Regions from separate parts of the Homo sapiens genome. Here region 1 is linked to region 2. Evidence: promoter capture Hi-C in human tissues and cell types (Jung and others, 2019). All regions are on one chromosome and are shown on one strand. Each heading gives the region's core, a stretch centred on a gene start or on the middle of the fragment in contact. The rest is flanking DNA. Distances are from core to core; before and after follow the strand shown. Region 1 overlaps PPM1K (protein phosphatase, Mg2+/Mn2+ dependent 1K). Region 2 holds the start of HSD17B11 (hydroxysteroid 17-beta dehydrogenase 11).

Region 1 (5,240 bases), core at 2,473-4,972, 880 kb after region 2:
ATACGAATTTCACCCAGGAATTGTGCTCAAACATTACAAACCTGCAACACAGGGGAGAGCAGAGAAAGAGCTGCAAAATAAGGGAAGGGTTTTTTATTTTGGTGAAAATTTAACTAGCAAATTATATAATATTCCAGGAGATGCCAAATCAATTATTCCAAAACTCAGTTTGTTCCAGTTGATGGTATTTTGTAGTTGAGCCTATTTTTTCATCACAGGGTAACACTTCTTTCTTAATTTTGTGGTTTCTAAGGTTGAAAAAACTATATAAAAAAGTATCTGTACCAAGACACATAAATGGTGACACAGACCTACATTTAACACACTCACAAAAACACTCACGCATATACACATTCACTGAAATAATTGGTCTTAAACACAGTAAATCACTACCTTTACTGAGTTACAAAAAATGCACTGTAAATTTGTTTGGTAGCAATATCAGAATTGTCTCAAGAATAGAAAGGTAAATCTACAGTTACAGCATGGAAGAATTTGTATCTGACAAGCAGGATGTAAACTACAGTATACCACCAAATTACTGGGACTTAAATATATATCAAGAAGGAATCAAAGCACCCGCTATACAAGATACATAGAGTAATGCATTTGTTAATGGTGCTTAATGCAGAGACTTAGTACCTATAAGGCATTTTTGAGTAGAATGATTAATTTAAATTCATTGCTTAAATAAAGGCTAGCGAGACGCATGTTTATAATTTTGTATAATTCACAAAATGGGTATTTCTGCAGCTCTCTCTTTCCCCCAGTGTTGCAGGCCGACACATCAAAAGAAAAATGATCAAGATTGTGAATGCCAACATAAAGAGCAAAAGCTATACTTTTCAAAGTATAATGACCCCTAGTAATTACTCAATTGTGTAAATAATACTATGTATAAACCAATACAGTTTCAATATTTATTAAAAATGGGTGTTCTAGACTCATGACTCATGAACACCAAAATCAAAGTAATGAGCTGAAGCAGTAGCAGCACGGTAAGAACATCTCATCAATGCTCTCTTTTTTTTTCTTTTGGCTGTCCCGGCATAGGGGATTCAAAAATGCTGTGTTTACAGCCCTGGTTCTTTTGTAGTTTAATTCTTCCATAAAGAGGTCACAGGATATGAAGAACATAAAAGTTTCTGGTGAGACTCATAATGCCATCAATGTCCCCCACTCTGAATGTCTGAGCAAGTCTTCTCTTTTTGTTCCATTTGTCCCTTTCGGAGCTTTGTTGCTTTCAAAGTTTAAGCAATCTGGAAACACTCTGAAGAGCTTATAGGAAATATAGAATTATAACCTAATTTTCTACCATCTAGTTTGTTCTAAGTGGCTATCTCTTTATAAACAACGGACTGGTGGGATATCATCCGGATTTACTGGCTGCTTTTATTAATTGTAAAAGTAGACATTACTGGTATAAATTGAATAAAAAAATTAAAAGATGGTGATGAAATTTGCTACTGATAACTAAGGACAGGTTGAAAATGCATTAACAAAAAAGCAATAAAAATAGCTGACAATTTCTTAAGGGCAAGGGAATCTTGTTCTTGCCATTTCTTGATAAGTGGCATTTTGATTTTATTCTTTTCAAAATATCCCCAGCTACAACAGTAAATTATTTTATTTTATTTTCTACTCAAACAATAAGCTTTTATTATATTTTACAGATCAGTCATCCAGGACATGCTGCGTCTGTGGTTGGCATCGTCTCATTTCTGAAAGGACTGAATGCACATAAAAGTCTCTTGCCCACGCTGAACTCACACATGCCGGGCAGAAAAGAGCTCTCACTAAGTGTAACTTGAGTGTGAACTTGCTCAGGCAACAGCAATGCCATTCAACAGTAAATATTTTAAATGTTAGTAAGATAATTTGAAGTTCTTTATGTAGCTGTAACAGCTTTGGAACTGAAGTTGAGAGGAGATAAGAATGTTTTAATTTCACTTAAGAAAGTTAATATGGTATTGATACAGGAGCTAGAAATAAATTATGTAGGCACATAGTGAGGGTAAAGGAGTCCGTGGCAAGGCTTCCCTTTTAACAAAAAGCAGCCTCCAAACCATTTCTTTTCTAACAAAGAGCAACCTGAAAAATTGAGCTGCAAACATAAATAAGCAAGCTGGAAGCTTGCACAGGTGAATGCCAGCAGCTGTGCCAATAGAAAAGTACTACCTGGGCTGGGCACAATGGCTCACGCCTGTAATCCCAGCACTTTGGGAGGCCAAGGCGGACAGATCACCCAAGGTCGGGAGTTAGAGACCAGCCTGACCAACATGGCAAAACCCCGCCTCTACTAAAAATACAAAAATTAGGTAGGCATGGTGGCAGGCGCCTATAATCCCAGGTACTTGGGAGGCTGAGGCAGGGGAATCACTTGAACCTGGGAGGTGGAGGTTGCAGTGAGCTGAAATTGCACCATTGCACTCTAGCCTGGGAGACTAGAGCAAAACTGTCTCAAAAAAAAAAAAAAAGAAAAAGAAAAGGGCTACCTGGGGCCAAGCATGTTCAATATGTTCCATCTTCCCTTTTCTTTGTCACCATGTGTAAAGAAATGGGCAACATGGCGCTGGCCAGGTAGAGAACCCATCTGCATAATAAAAGATTAGGGTGGGGGTGGCCAGATTCTTGAATGCTCTGCAAATTGCACACCTAGGCCTAATCAGTTTTTCGTGTGCTATGCAAATGGCACATCTGGTCCAACCAATCTTTCATGCCCTATGTAAATCAGACACTGCCTCCTCAAGTTCATCCATAAAGCCTCCTGCACTTCACCATGGACTAGAAAGCTGTTTGGGACCCCTCTTTTTGCAGGAGAGAGCTTTTCTCTTTCTTTCACCTATTAAGTCTCCACTCCTAACCTCACTCCTTGTGTGTCCTCGTCCTTGATTTCCTTGGTATGAGACAATGAAACTCAAGTATTACGCCAGACGAGCAATGCTGCTTCAGTAGGACTGAGCGGCACGCCTCTCTTTTATACCTAAAATCTCACCATTAGTAATTCACTTCTATGGTTTAAGCCTTTTTCAGGTGTCTGCTAACTAAAATTCAAATCCACCCAGGAGTGACAGCTCATTAAAATGCAAACATTTTATAATAATTTGATTAAATCAGCTATATGATAATCAAAGAAAAAATTACAGTAACTTCAGTGAGAAAGAGTCAGCGTGGAGATCTCAGTTCAATCCAAATAATTATTGAGTACCTGCCAGGTTCTATGCAGGGTGCTGCACACTGGAGATTCAAAAATGAATAAGCCACAGTCCTTCACCTCACAGGAAGGGTTCAAGAAGAGGGGAAAGGGGTTAATACTAAAAGAGAAAAGATGAAAGAAACTGGAGAGGGTAAACTGCACTTACTACAAAATTTTGTTTCACTGGCACTGGTCCTATCTATATACATAGGCCGAAAAGAATATTATCCACTCTTATAATACTGATACTGCTTCAGTTCTTGCTAAAAACTAAAGTTTTAAACTTAAATAATAACTTTGAAATTTAAAATGACATTTTAAAAAATCCATAAACTGAACAGTTACACAACATATGGCATTCTATCTTTAGTGGCTTTAATGTATTTGATAAAATAGGCCCTAAATATCAAGACAATTTTTGCCATCTTTGAAGGCTCTGGCAACTTATCAAGAATAAAATTTTTAAATGTTCTCAAAACACTAATTTTTAAAAAACACAGACCGATAAGAATATATACAAAATAAGATTTTAATAACAAATAACAAATTTAATAACAAAATAAGATTTAATAACAATATTATAATAGACCTTTTCTTTTAGTACACACTAAGAGCATCATCTTGTCTTGCTCCATTATACTTTCAAACAAATTACCATTATATGAAAAATACATTTTAAAATATCTTAAGAATGTTCTGGGATCATTACTTCAAAGCATATGATAGAGGAATTAAATTAAATAATGCATTTTAATTTCTTTATTACAAATGAATTGATTTTAGTAAGAATAAAAAATATGGAACTCTTCATGCATTTGTGTGCCATCCTTGCACAAGGACCATGCTGATCTCTGTATCATTCCAATTTTAGTGTATGTGCTGCTGAAGTTAGCATATGAATTACATTTTTGTGATTAATTTCTTTATACAACTGTTTAATGTTTTTGTGACAAAGGTATCTTTAGAAAGTTTCTTTTAAGATAGGCAAGTTAATTAAATTCTTTAAGTTCAAAATTCTGTTGAGTTATACTTCATTCAATAATAAAAGGAGTCCTGTCATATTTTACATCAAGTCAATCACCGATTGGTTTAAGCATCTACATTGACTAGATACTTTTAAAAGAGGCTGATGGCATTGAGAAGGCCAATGTTTTTGGTTGGTGGTCACATGCCTGGGATAAATTTGGACATTCTCATCCAAAAACCTTGCCCAGTAAGCTGCAGCTATTTACAGAACAGCTGGGGCACACCACCGACACTACAGTCAACAAACATTGTGGTGTGAGACATAGCCAGATGCACAGCCAACTCAGTTACTATGAAATAAGAGCATACCAAAATTCAGGAAGTAATAAAAATAAAACCATAAGAAAATATTTCATTTCCTCTTTTCCTTCATGTGTTTTAACTATTTGGAACAAGAGCTAAGTCTTATGCATAAAGTTTACCTCTTTCAGCTTCTGTCTTCTTAAAGGTAAGGGTCCAGTTGAAAGGAAAAAGAAAAATTCCAAAGGAATGAAAGAAAAGAAAATGGGCCTAAATGATCTACAAACTGGAAAACATATCCCTGAAGAGAGTGGACTGTAATGCTTTCCTGAGGAGTGTGATAGTAAGGTTCTCAAAAAAAGCTCAGGAAAAAATCTCAAGATGGTAAATAGAGCCATCGCAGAGTTACCTTCTCCTCTCCTCATGAGAGAAGAGAGATAATGCTGGTGGTCAGGAAAATCCCAGCCCTAACTCTGAACTGACCTTTACCACTCTAATCTTCAGTTCCTTCGCTGTGAAATGCAAACAATCTCTATCCTTATGTATTCCAACTGAAGACTGTGCAAATGACATTTCTGTGGTGCACTTGGTTTCTTTCTTTTTTTTAAGAAAAGGATGAACCAAATACAGATCAAGATTATTGCATGATTCATTTTCAAATCATTTACAAGGTTACATGCACACATTCATTTGGCTGGTACAGAAATTTTCAGGGTTAACTTTAACAGCAAAAGATTTGGGACTAGCTAACTAGAAAACGTTTGCTGAATTTTCGTGA
Region 2 (5,148 bases), core at 2,434-4,933:
CAGTTTCTGCTACCTGGACTGCTCCAAATCCCCACCCTGTCCTTTCCCAATCAGGTTTAGTGGTTCTCAGCCTTCTATAATTTCAAATCTATAAAACGGCAAGAAAAATAGAGTGGGATGTGTATACCGAACTAGGATTGCCAAACTTTTGGCCAAATAAGGACACTCAAAACTAACAAAATGACCCTCATATGTTATCATGTAATTTCATTAACAAATATATTTTTTACCCACAAAAAGTAGGAAGGATATAATCTCAAAATAAAATATAGATTATTTAAATTAAACTAATTTAACCTAATAAAAACTCACTACATTGTCCTCAATTTTTCTGACCATTACTCCGAATCTCTGCTACTGCCAACCCGGTTCAATAGTCCCCATCATTTCATCTCATGCCTGGATTATCACAGTAGTCTCTTACTTTACTTGTTCCTTCCATCTTTTCTCCTCTTACATCTCTCCTAAGCCCAGCAGCTGGAGGATCCTCTTCAATAGGAATTACCCTCAAAACCCTTCATTGACTCCCCAGAGTAAAAAGCCAAAATACAGGAAATTTTATCATCTGTAGCTCCAGCCCTTTAAATCTCTACACCGGTACTGTCTCATAGAAATATAACGCAAGCCATGTATATAATTTTAATCTTTCTAGTAGTCACACCAAAAAAAAAAAAAACAATCTAGTGGCATATTTTATTTAACCCAACATATCTAAGTAATTATCATTTCAACATGTATACTATATAAAAATTATTAACACAAAATTCTACATTCTTTTCTTCATACTAAGTCTGCAAAATCCAGCATGTATTTCCACTCACAGTGCATCTCAAATCAGACTGGCCACATTTTGAAAGGCTCAAGAGCCACAAGAGGCTAGGGGCTACTACCTACCACTGTGTTGCACAGAGTAGATCTAGACCTTTCTTGTGCTTCTCTCCCTTCCCTCAGTCTATGCCAGGCTTTGCATTTGCTGATCCCTCCCTGCAGGACTCACTGTGCTCTCAGCTTCTTCTGATATTGATTCAATTATCTCCATCTCAGTGGGGCCTTCCTGGCCACCACTGTAAAGTCAACACTCCCCTCCTACCCTCCCCACCATATAGAGTCTTTTATCTACTTTCACCTTTTATTTTTTTCTTTATGCTTAACACCATCTAACAATTATACATTTTATTATACAGTGTGGCATACTGCCCCTAGCTCATGAGGCTCATGTCTTCCTCAGTGCTATATCCTCAGTTCTGCATTAGAACAGTGCCTAACAGATAATAGGTGCTCAATAAATATTTGTTGGATAAATGCATGTCACTGAAGATCAGAGAAAATTTTGTACAAACCAGCACTGGACATTGGAAGTCATTAACCTAACTAACTCTTACATACATTTAAATTTTAGCTTAAACCACACTTTGTCAAGGAATAATAAGAACACTGCAGTGTGTTTACCTTATACCACACTGTGCTAAATGCTTTGTATGCATTATCTCATATCATACTGACAGCTTTTTGAGGTATGTATTGTTATTTTATCCATTTTGCAGAAAAGGAACTAAAGCTGTGGAAACGTTGAGTAAGTTACCCAATCAGAAAACGAAAGCTCAGATGTGTCTGACTATATCACCATGCCAGACCTTGACCATGCTGGTCCAGGCTGGACCTGGGTTGTATTTTTCATTGCTCTTGTAATTACTTTTTTATTTATTAATTTAATTTAATTAATTTATTTATTTTTAAGACAGAGTTTTGCTCTTGTTGCCCAAGCTGGAATGCAATGGCATGATCTCGGCTCACTGCAACCTCTGCCTCCCAGGTTCAAGCAGTTCTCCTGCCTCAGCCTCATGAGTAGCTGGGATTACAAGTACACGCCACCACGCTCAACTAATTTTTTGTATTTTTGGTAGAAATGGGGTTTCACCATGTTAGCCAGGCTGGTCTTGAACTCCTGACCTCAGGTCATCTGCCCGCCTCGGCCTCCAAAAGTGCTGGGATTACAAGTGTGAGCCACCGCATCCAGCCTGCACTTGTAATTACTTAATGTCCATTTTCCCTACTAGACTGAGGTCATGGAACCTTATTTTCTGTTTGTCACCCTATCCCTAATGTCTAAGCAGCAGACAGTCATTATTTGTTGATTGCTGTCTTCATCAGCCACTCACTGGGTTAACCCTCATTTAACTTCACATCCTTTGAATTATTGTTTACAGCATTGCATGTCAACTAGTGTGTAATGGATAATGTTTCAGGCCATCAGGTATCTTCTAGAAACCCCTTTGTTCATCTACCAAAGGTCAAATAAAAGGTTGGATTCTAGGTCCTCTTCTCCTCCCTAAGCCACACCTACACTTGTCCTAGGTAAAAAATTACACTGAAAGTTTTTTTCCCTTTTATTGTTTTTACTAAAAGATGCTTTCCCGCCACTCCTTCAGTATCACAGGTCAAACGTGGTAAAAAATGTTTTTTAAAAAAATTTGAGACAGGGTCTCACTCTGTCACCCAGGCTGGAGTGCAGTGGGGCGTTTACAGCTCACTGCAGTCTCCACCTCCCAGGCTCAAGCAACCCCCCACCTCAGCCTCCCGGAAAAGATGCTTTTTAAAATTACTCTTGGCAATAACTATGGCAATGTAGCATTGGTTTCTGTTGAGTATAATCTTTTTGTTTGTTTTTTGAGACGGAGTCTAGCTCTGTCGCCCAGGCTGAAGTGCAGTGGCGCCATCTTGGCTCACTGCAACCTCCGCCCCGCGGGGTTCCCGCCATTCTCCTGCCTCAGCCTCCCCAATAGCTGGGACTACAGACGCCCGCCACCACGCCCGGCTAATTTTTTTTTGGTATTTTTAGTAGAGACGGGGTTTCAGTGTGTTAGGATGGTCTCGATCTCCTGACCTCGCGATCCGCCTGCCTTGGACTCCCAAAGTGCTGGGATTACAGGCGTGAGCCAACGGCGAGTATAATCTTTCAAACCACTTTTCTCATTAACAGTAAGTAGGACTTTCTCTTAATAGGTACAAGCTTCTTACTCTTTTAATATATAGCTAAAACGATTGTTTTTTCCCTATTTTTAAAATAGAGGGATCAATGAAATCAGGTTCAGGAAAAAATTATGAGTTATCCTTAGGGCAAAAATGGGGATCAATTTACAAATGGGGCAGTAACTGGGACTATTATAACCTCTAGGTCTGTTTATCATGTGATCATACAACATATTAATTCATGCCCTCCCATCTGCAAAATGGCAATACTAATTTTTTTTTCCTCCCTGCTTTGCAGAGATGAGGTAAAGGGTGGTTGCCAGCAAAATGCAGACACATCCACAAATTAAAGGTACCAGAAAGTAAAACATAGTAAACACTGTTACCTTATTTATATCCCAGAGAACCAGCTTGCTTTTAAGTTTAGCAAATTCATAGGCAGTCAGTCTCCCAATTCCATGCCCAGCTCCTGTAATCAGCACGATTTCGCCGGTGACTGATTTTCTCCTCTTAGGAATAAAAAGCTTCACGAAGGACTCTAGGGAGCAGACGATCAGTAACGGGAGAAGCAGGAGGATGTCCAGAAGAAATTTCATCCCTTTTGTGGCTGCGAGCGTTTGGTGTGTTTTTTTTTTTTTTTACCACTCTAAACTGCTTTTAGAGGGTAGCTCGATCTAACACCAGAAAGAGTAGGGGCGAGAGCAAGGAGGAACTCCCGTATCAAAGAAAAACAACTCCGAAACCGTTCCTTCCGCTGGGCTGGGCTTTGTTGGTCTTTCGCAATTGGCTCGGGCTGCAGTGCTTGCTAGCTCAGAGATCTGGGAGGGACGAAGTCCAGACCGGAGCAAAGCTTCCTAGTTCTGCTTTGCGCAGCCCCCACGCGGTGTGTGGCCGCGATTGTCTTTTACACCACTTTCTCCCGGTGTCGTGAGCCGGCCTTGGAGGGTTAGTTGCTCACTTGTTTTCCTAAATTGGATAAGTTCCAAGGATAACCGACAGTGTCCACAGGCCAGATGCTTCTTTCATAGTTGAAGGTTGCTTATCACTAGATAGGGGGTGCCGCTGGGCGCGGCGGCTCTCGCCTGTGATCCTGGCACTTTGAGAAGCCCTGGCGGGAGGATCGCTTGACCCCAGGAGTTCGAGATCAGCCTGAACAACATAGGGAGACCCCCGGTCTCTTTTTTTTTTTTTTTAATTAGCCAGGCGTAGTGGCGTGTGCCTGTAGTTCCAGCTACTCGAGAGACTGAGGCACGGGAATTGCTTGAGTCCAGGAGGTGGAGGCTACAGTGAGTGAAGATCGCGCCACTGCACTCCAGCCTGGACGAAAAGGCCAGACTTTGTCCTAAAAAACAAAAACTAGATAGAGGATGCAAATGTAGATTCCTATCTTAAAGGATCCTGAAAAGACCAATCGTTCTGCTTCCAGCTGAGAAATTGCGCTACATCACATTTTAGTTTGAACTAAGCACGATTTCTGGAAGACAGGGGAAATTTTGTCTGTTCAAGGACAGCTTCAATCAAGCGCCAGAAAAAATTGTTATCGTATTAAAGGGATTGTTTCCACAAGAAAGAAGAGTATATTTGAATAATCATTTTTCACTTGACCTATTAGAGTTTGAAAATAAAAAATATATGTTGTACTTTAGGAATTTTATCTTTATTCAAGTGAATAAATAGCAAATCATTTAGCCTAAAGATTACCTATGTAACATTTGGTTTTGTAGCCTATATAAATGGGTATTCAGTATATGCTAACTAGTGACTTGAAAAAATTCTAGAGATTGGTTACTGGAAGAAAAGACCTAACTAGGGCTTGTGTCCAGTAAGAGCTTAATAATGGTATTGCATGCATTTTTTTCCAACTCATTTTTGACAGACATTGGATTTGGGTTTTGCGCAAGACACTCCAGTGCTTGGGAAGGGACTTTGTTGTGTGACAATAGTCAACTTTCATATTTAAGAGCCAGAAAGATCACACAAAAAAATCAAAGTTCACAAATAGTTCAAACTCGATTGTCCCTCTTACTTAAGCAGCCATACGTTGTTATAGGGGATGAAGGGATAGTGGCAGCCTCACAAAAGTGAACCCCATTATAGAATTCTTTGAATTCAGAATATCTACAACTTTTTTTTGGATAGCCTCCAAATCCAAATTTACAAAACACTTGTATAGAAAGT

What was found. Contacts are between HindIII fragments. The study calls those that stand out against the background at their distance.
Region 1: a contact is called between a fragment that was not itself captured here and the fragment with the promoter of HSD17B11 in region 2, in 1 of the 25 tissues and cell types used here (hippocampus).

The regions. Positions count from the first base shown.
Region 1 is chr4:88,271,218-88,276,457 of GRCh38, forward strand. All of the region lies in intron 3 of PPM1K (protein phosphatase, Mg2+/Mn2+ dependent 1K), which reads right to left. It also overlaps the pseudogene RNU6-112P. Among named protein-coding and RNA genes, the nearest start is that of PPM1K, 11 kb to the right of the region's middle. The HindIII fragment of the contact is 6,866 bases long and covers 290-5,240 here.
Region 2 is chr4:87,387,505-87,392,652 of GRCh38, forward strand. HSD17B11 (hydroxysteroid 17-beta dehydrogenase 11) reads right to left here and starts at 3,684. Exons shown (of 7, transcript NM_016245.5): 1 at 3,357-3,684. The coding sequence starts at 3,566. RefSeq lists enhancers at 3,896-3,965, 3,979-4,551. The HindIII fragment of the contact is 3,840 bases long and covers 3,658-5,148 here.